Regions from separate parts of the Homo sapiens genome. Here region 1 is linked to region 2. Evidence: promoter capture Hi-C in human tissues and cell types (Jung and others, 2019). All regions are on one chromosome and are shown on one strand. Each heading gives the region's core, a stretch centred on a gene start or on the middle of the fragment in contact. The rest is flanking DNA. Distances are from core to core; before and after follow the strand shown. Region 1 holds the start of GPIHBP1 (glycosylphosphatidylinositol anchored high density lipoprotein binding protein 1). Region 2 overlaps LY6E-DT (LY6E divergent transcript).

Evidence for each region. Contacts are between HindIII fragments. The study calls those that stand out against the background at their distance.
Region 1: the fragment with the promoter of GPIHBP1 here is called in contact with a fragment that was not itself captured in region 2 in 4 of the 25 tissues and cell types used here (adrenal gland, aorta, lymphoblastoid cells and 1 more).

What each region holds. Positions count from the first base shown.
Region 1 is chr8:143,211,050-143,214,672 of GRCh38, reverse strand. GPIHBP1 (glycosylphosphatidylinositol anchored high density lipoprotein binding protein 1) reads right to left here and starts at 1,455. Exons shown (of 4, transcript NM_178172.6): 1 at 1,354-1,455; 2 at 723-851. The coding sequence starts at 1,405. The HindIII fragment of the contact is 48,923 bases long and covers 1-3,623 here.
Region 2 is chr8:142,993,868-142,997,334 of GRCh38, reverse strand. All of the region lies in intron 1 of LY6E-DT (LY6E divergent transcript), which reads left to right. It also overlaps the pseudogene CDC42P3. Among named protein-coding and RNA genes, the nearest start is that of LY6E-DT, 23 kb to the left of the region's middle. The HindIII fragment of the contact is 9,153 bases long and covers 1-3,467 here.

The DNA of each region.
Region 1 (3,623 bases), core at 206-2,705, 220 kb before region 2:
GGAGGGCCTCACAGGGGACACCTCGTGGGTGTGTGGGGCAGGGCTCGTGCTGAGGGCAGGCTTGGGGCTCCTGGGAGGGGGGTGGGCTGTGTGTGGTGGGGCATGCTGGGGGCCCTGGCTAGGGAGGGGCTGTGTGTGGTGGGGCACGCTGTGGTCCCTGGCTAGGGAGGGGCCGGCCCTCGGGTTGGATGCGGCGATTTGCTCTGCTTTTCTCGGGATGGGAGAGAGCAGAGGGTGGCCCACGTGTAGGGGTGTGTCAGGTGGGCAGTGAGGGTGGGCTCTTCTTAGCCCTACTCTGCTCTGCTCTAAGCGGTTCCCTGGCTCCCCAGCCCGCAGCAGCCAATCCAGCCCTCCCCTGTACAGGACCGGCCCACCCTGCTGCTCTCTCTGCCCCACAAAACTGAACCCTACCCTGGGGCCTCTGTGCTTGTGTCTCCACCCTAGGCCCCCACTGAGCCCTTCTCTGCCTGGTGAACTCCTATTTAACCTCTACATCCTGGCACCACTGACCCTCCCAGCTGGTGGCTTCTTCCCCTGTTCCCTACTCTGGAAGGCAACTGAGTGTCATGGTGAGCAGCAGTGAGGGGTGTACTGAGTGTCCCCCACTCTGCTGGAGGCAAGCTCACAGCAGGACTGTGGCCTGCTGGCTTCCATCACACAGCCCCGCCCAGAATGCTCCAGGCAGATCAGGCAGCAGGGCTCTGGGGTTGGGGCGGCCATACCTCTGCTCCTGCCACCAGGGAGCCTGTTGGTCTCCTCCTCTTCCACCTCATCCTCATCTTCCTCGTCGTAGTCATCTGGCCCGTGGTCCTCGTCCTCTTCCTCTTCCTCCTGCTGTGTCTGCCCTCTCCCTGGCCGTGCAGGGATGCTTGTAAGCCTCAGCTACCCGGGTATGGAGGACACCTGCTCTGGGCAAGCATCGTGCCCCCAACTCCTTGGCCCTCCCCAGCCATCCTCGGGCCCCAGGGTGGCTGGGGAGGGCCCCTACCCTGAACACCCTACTCACCCTACTCACTGTCCTGCAGCCTACTCACCCTACTCACTGTCCTACTACCCTACTCACCCTACTCACTGTCCTGCAGCCGAGTGTGCCCTGGCATTGTAGTTACAACAGCAGCTGCTGTGGGCTGGCCCTTTATGGTAGCCCCTCCCCGCACCCCACATAAACAGGGGCGCAGATATTTGGGGACTCTCGGGGACCCAGGCCAGCTTCCATCCATGCTGCTCTGGGCTGGGGACTCCAGCCTCATCCCCTCCTTCTTCCTAAGCCCCTGCTGGGGGTCCCTGGAGGTCCCTGTGCTCCAGGACTGCTGTTGCTGCCCCCTCACCGCAGGGTTACCCTTTGCCCCGCACCTGGCCGCCCGAACAGCAAGAGGGCAAGCAGGACAGCCCCGAGCGCCTTCATCTCGCCGGACGCTGCTGTGTCCCTGACTCTGAGTCCTCCCGCAGGGCTCTGGAGCTGCGGTAAGTGGGATGAAGGGCATTGCCGTGGGCTTCCTAGTGGCCCCCACCAGCTCCAGCCTCAAACAATGGGCCTCACACTGGTCCCCAGCTCCAGGCGCCAGGCCAGGGACTGTTGTTTCCCTCCAGGACATCTGGGGCCAGAGGGGAAGGAGAAGTCATTGTGGTTGGCCTTGGAACGTCCTGTGCACCCGTGCCACGGCAGGTGGAAGGTGGTGCTGGCCCTCGCCTGGCTTGCCGCTCAGTGCCTCAGCCCTGCAGTGCAGGGCAGGGAGCCTCGCCCCGGAATGGGCCATGCCTGACACCCCTCAACCCCATGTCTGGGCTCCATAGTCACAGGACCTTGGGGTCACAGACCCTCTATTTGCTGGTCACTGGCCAAGCATCGTCATCCTAGAGTCAGCATCACACCCAGGCCCCTTTAAGAGCATTTAAGTAAAAACACAGTCAATGCCCTCAAGCTAAGGCTGCGTGCTCACCTCCTCCTCACCCACACTCAGCAATGCACTGCTAGGCCCAAGGCCTCCCGGCTGCCCCTCACTATCACCTCGGGTCTTTGCCCCTGCTGCTCCATCTGCAGTGCTGTTCCTGCTGGTGTCCGGTGGAGAGCTTTCTGGAGCTCTTGGGGGCCCGCCCCCTCGGTCTCTTGCTGGGAAAGCCATCAGCACCCACCTGCCTTCTGGCCTTGTGTGAGAGACGGGCTGCTCTGGGAGAGGCTTGGAAAGCCCAGGTCGCTCCCTGAGGCCACCCCCTCCTCTCAAGACCCCACCCAAGCCCTTGGGGGGTGCTGATGCAGAGTGCAGAGTCGAGGCTCTGAGCTGCCCCTCTCCCAAGGGCAGCAGAGGGGTGGGGCAGCGGCAGGGGCTGGACGTCCGGAGCCAGGGTCAAGCCTGAGCGTCTCTGTGTGCCTTGGTGCTTGGGCCAGGCACTTCACCTACTGAGGCCTCAGTTTCCCCGACTGTCAATGGGTGGGGTGGGGCATTTTCTGGCCGGCCACCTGTAACAGAGGTTGAGTTGGTTCTGGAGTGAGCTACCTGGGTTTAAGACCCGGTTCCTCCTTCCCCCGGCTGTGGGTTCTGGACTAGCCCCTTGGGTTCCCCAGGCCTCAGCTCCCTCATAGGGTGAGGTGACCATCAAGGGTCAGTACCTGCTGGGCTTAGGACAGCGCCTGAGGCTGGGAATACCTGTCTCTAATGTCCCAGCCACCGAGTCAACCATCCTTCCTTAATTCACCTGAACCTGTCATTCTTTCCACTCTACCGGCACCCACCCAGCATCTAGCCCTTCCCCAGCCAAGGCTGCAAGGTCACTTGCCAAGCCAGGGTCTCCCATAGTGGTGCCCACGCCACAGCCGGACACGCCCCGCCAGCCCCAAACTCTTCATACCTGATGCCTGTCCCCCCCAGCCCCGTCCCGCCCCGCCCCGCCCCGCCCTTCCCTGCCCCTCCGCGCGTGGCCCCACCCCCACCCGCCTCCCTGCGCCCTCTCGCCCTCGGCCCGCCTCCCCCACGCCCCGCCTCCCCCACTGCCCCGCCTCCCCCACTGCCCCGCCTCCCCCACTGCCCCGCCTCCCCCCACGCCCCGCCTCCCCCACTGCCCCGCCTCCCCCACTGCCCCGCCTCCCCCCACGCCCCGCCTCCCCCACTGCCCCGCCTCTCTCACGCCCCGCCTCCCCCCACGCCCCGCTTCCCTGGTGCCCCGCCTCCCCCACACCTGTCTACCCCATGCCCCGCCTCCCCCACTGCCCCTACTTCCCGTCGCCCCGCCTCCCCATCGCCCCGCCCCCATTCGCCCCTTCTCCCCAGCGTCCCACCTCCCTGTCGACCCGCCTCTCCTGTGCCCCGCCTCCCCCGTGCACCGCCTCCCGTCATCTTCACCCCTCCTCCCCCACGCCCCGCCTCCCTGTCGCCCCTCTTCCCTGGTGCCCCGCTTTCCTGCTGCCCTACCTCCCCCGCGCCCCGCCCCGGCTACCGCTACAGGCCCTTGAATCTAGTGCTGCAGGAGCTGCTCCTAGGAAGGGCGCTACTGGGATTCTCAAGGGGCCTCCACCTGCCGCCTCCCCTCCACAGGGGCCCAGGCCCTTGCACGTTGCCTCCCTCTGGGCCCAGCTCCTCTTCAGCCCAGGTGCAAACTGCCCAGCCCAGGCAAGTGCTTATTGCGAG
Region 2 (3,467 bases), core at 590-3,089:
ATTACAAACTCAATTCATTTGGTGCATTTCAAAGGTGCAATACTTTTCTTCATTTATTAGTGAAAGAAGTTAGAAATTAACTTCCCCCCAAAATCAGCAAATGGCAAACAAATGTCTTTGAAAGTCACAGTCACATATAGTGTGTCCTAGAAAAGAGGAGGGGCAAGACAGGCTCCACCCACTTTCATGAGTTTCATCAAATACTGGATCTACTCAAAGGTGGAGAGAAAAGGCAACTTTCAAAAAGGAGTCTGTTATTAAATGAGGCATTTACTATACTCCTTCCTGAGAGCCCCAGGTGGGGAACATGTTTTCTAAACCATATCTAGGAAGTGGAATGTGGAATCAATCCGTCCTCCTCCCCTAAGGGCTATCCACTGGTTAATGAATTAAAAAAAAAAAAGGACTAAAAAATAAACCCCACACACACTCCTCCCAAAGAAAGAGGAGACACACACACACACACACACACACACACACACTAAGATCTCCCAGATTACTCTCCAGAGTGGAACCAGGGAGCAGCTTCAACAATTCCAATTAGTCTGTTACAGAGTCATCCACAAGCATGCCTTGCTTTTAAACAAAAAAATTTTGAAGCAACAAAACAAAAACTTGTACTAATCACTTTTCTGACAATACGCAATTACTCAAAATTAACTAGTACTGGGAGGGGGAAGAGGGGGCCATACCTATGGACCTTGTCTCACACGAGTGCATGTGGGTAGGTGCAGGACATTTGTCATTATTGCAAAAACGAATTTTAATTTTTAATCTTTAGTTTGAGTTAAACATTGCTTTTAGTATGATGCTGACACCAGCTGTGCAGAAAGGGCTCTGGAGAGATGTTCCTAGCAGCACACACCTGTGGCTCTTCTTCAGTTCTGGAGGCTCCAGGGAAGCCAATATTGCTTCATCAAATACATTCCTTAGGCCTTTCTGTGTGAGTGCAGAACACACCACATACCTGACAGCCTTCAGGTCACGGATCAGCTTTTCAGCAGTCTCTGGAGTGGTGGGCTTCTGTTTGTTCTTGGCAAGTTTCTCAATAGTAGAGGGGTCATCTCTGAGATGAATTAGGGTCCCAACAAGCAAGAAATGAGTCTTTGGACAGTGGTGAGTTATCTTAGACACCCACTTTCCTTTCACATTTTCAAATGAAGATGGAGAGACCACTGAAAAACAGACTGGAAATACATCTGTTTGTAGATAACTCAGCGGTCATAATCTGTCATCATCGTCTTGCCCTGCAGTATCAAAAAGTCCAAGAGTATATGTTTCTCCACCAATCATAACAGTGACTGCATAGTTGTCAAAAACAGTTGGTACATATTTTGATGGAAATTTGTTTGTTGTGTAGGATATCAGGAGACATGTTTTACCAACAGCACCATTGCCCACAAAAACACACTTAATTGTCTGCATTGCTGAAATAAGTTTGTATCCACTTTAAATATTTCAAATCTGATGTTGACCTCAGCTTCTTCACTGGGGCATTAGCAGCACTCTACAGCTTTTCACAACTGGGTAAAGTACCCTCCTGTGAGTAAACTCTGAAGTACATTTCTGTCTACCTGATTTCTGTAGAAATTTGAAAACTATTTGCAAGTATACTTAATTTACGGCAGTATAGTTATTTGCATAAGTTCAATAAGAATGTATTTTCTTTTGTAACAGGACATAATTGGAGACACTGGTTATTTTACCAAAGCTTTGACCGGAAGGATGTACTTTTGGATACAAACAGACTGCTTTAAGGAGTCAAAGCTGACTTATGAAGTTGGCCTCATCCCTTGTCTACACAGTCACTGTACAGAGTTCCTTGCCTGTAGTATGTAAAGAATGTCACTTTCTGACAGGCTCAGGAGCCCCAAATTATCCTGGGACCTTGAGGAGAGGACATTGCCCAATTTATATAGGTATTTTCAGGCACCAATAAATCATGGCTGGGCTCAAGGCTTTAAAAAAAGTCAAATCTGGGATTCGTTATAGAATAAAGTTCCAGCAAAGCCAATTTTAAGACAGGCCTATATGGCAAATAATTATTCGTGCTGACATTATGCAAACACTCAGGCCAAGTATAAGATGAAAAATTATTTTAAATAAATTTGTCCTACTATGATTTGTCTTCAGTAAAAACAGGTACTGGGCTGGGCATGGTGGCTCACAGCTGTAATCCCAGCACACTGGGAGGCCAAGGCAGGCAGATCGCTTGAGGTCAGGAGTTTGAGACCAGCCTGGCCAACATGGTGGTGAAACACCATCTCTACCAAAAAATATAAAAATTAGCCAGGTGTGGTGGCATGTGTCTGTAATCCTAGCTACCCAGGAGGCTGAGGCATGAGAATTGCTTGAACCCAGGAGGTGGAGCTTGCCTGAGTCCTGGTAAGGCACAGACAGAAAGGGTTGTCAGCCATTTTTTTCTGAGGTTATAAGATCTGCAACTTCCCCAGTTATTCCTGCAGATAACACCACTATTGTAGATTGGCTTTTTGAGAAATCTTTTCCAGTGTTTGTGCATGACCGTGGCTCCACCTGGACCCACCTGGACCTGCCAATCCCACTCGTGTGACCCCACCCAGAAGTGACTCAGTCCTTAGGACTCAGCGTTGACCCCCTGTGATTTCATCTCTGCTCTAAGCAATCAGCAGCAAGCACCTATTACCTGGCCTCCCCAACTCCTTCCCCTAAAACTGTCTTTGAACAACCCCTAACCTGTGAGTTTTGCATGAGGTTGTTTGAGTGCTAACTCCATCTCTGTAGCGTGGCCAGCCTTTTGTCTATTAAACTCTTTCCTTATTGCAATGCCATGGTCTTTCTTTATGCAGCAGGCAGGAAGAGCCCCTTCAGTGTTTACAAAGTCTTACCTGCACAGAGAGGTCCCAGAGAGGCTGGCTGGGCACTGGGGATCTGGGGCTACCGTTGTTGATGGTCAATGAGACATGGAGTGGGAGCCTCCCACCCTGACATACCTAAAGAAGACACCACCTCCTATTTGGCAAAAGGTCCTTTCTTCCCACCAGCCTCACACTCCTGGTCCTGACGGCCACCTCCTACCGTGCTAGGGTCCCACACCCTGGGCTTCCTCCACACCAGTCAGTGGTTGGTGTTGGTGGGGAATCTTAGAGTCACCCTCTCAGACTCCCACTGAGGGGGACTGGTCTCCCTGTCCCTGGGGCTAGCCTGGAGCTGGGCCTGCCAGTGGTCACCTGTCTGAGCATGGGTTAGGAGGCTGGGAGGGCTGCCCACCACTCCAGGGCCTGCCTCCAGCTGCCTCCAGTTGCCTCCAGCTGCCTCCAGTTGCCTCCACCCTCAGGCACTCCTGGCCCCATGGTGCTTGAACAGGGCAGGGCAGGCTAGCTGGCTGAGGGCAGGGGGTTCCACGTCAGCGTTCTGAGGACTAAACTCTGGCCCTTTTTTCTTCTTTTGCCCAAATTCCTACCTAAGAGGCCTGGGGAGTGTGCCCT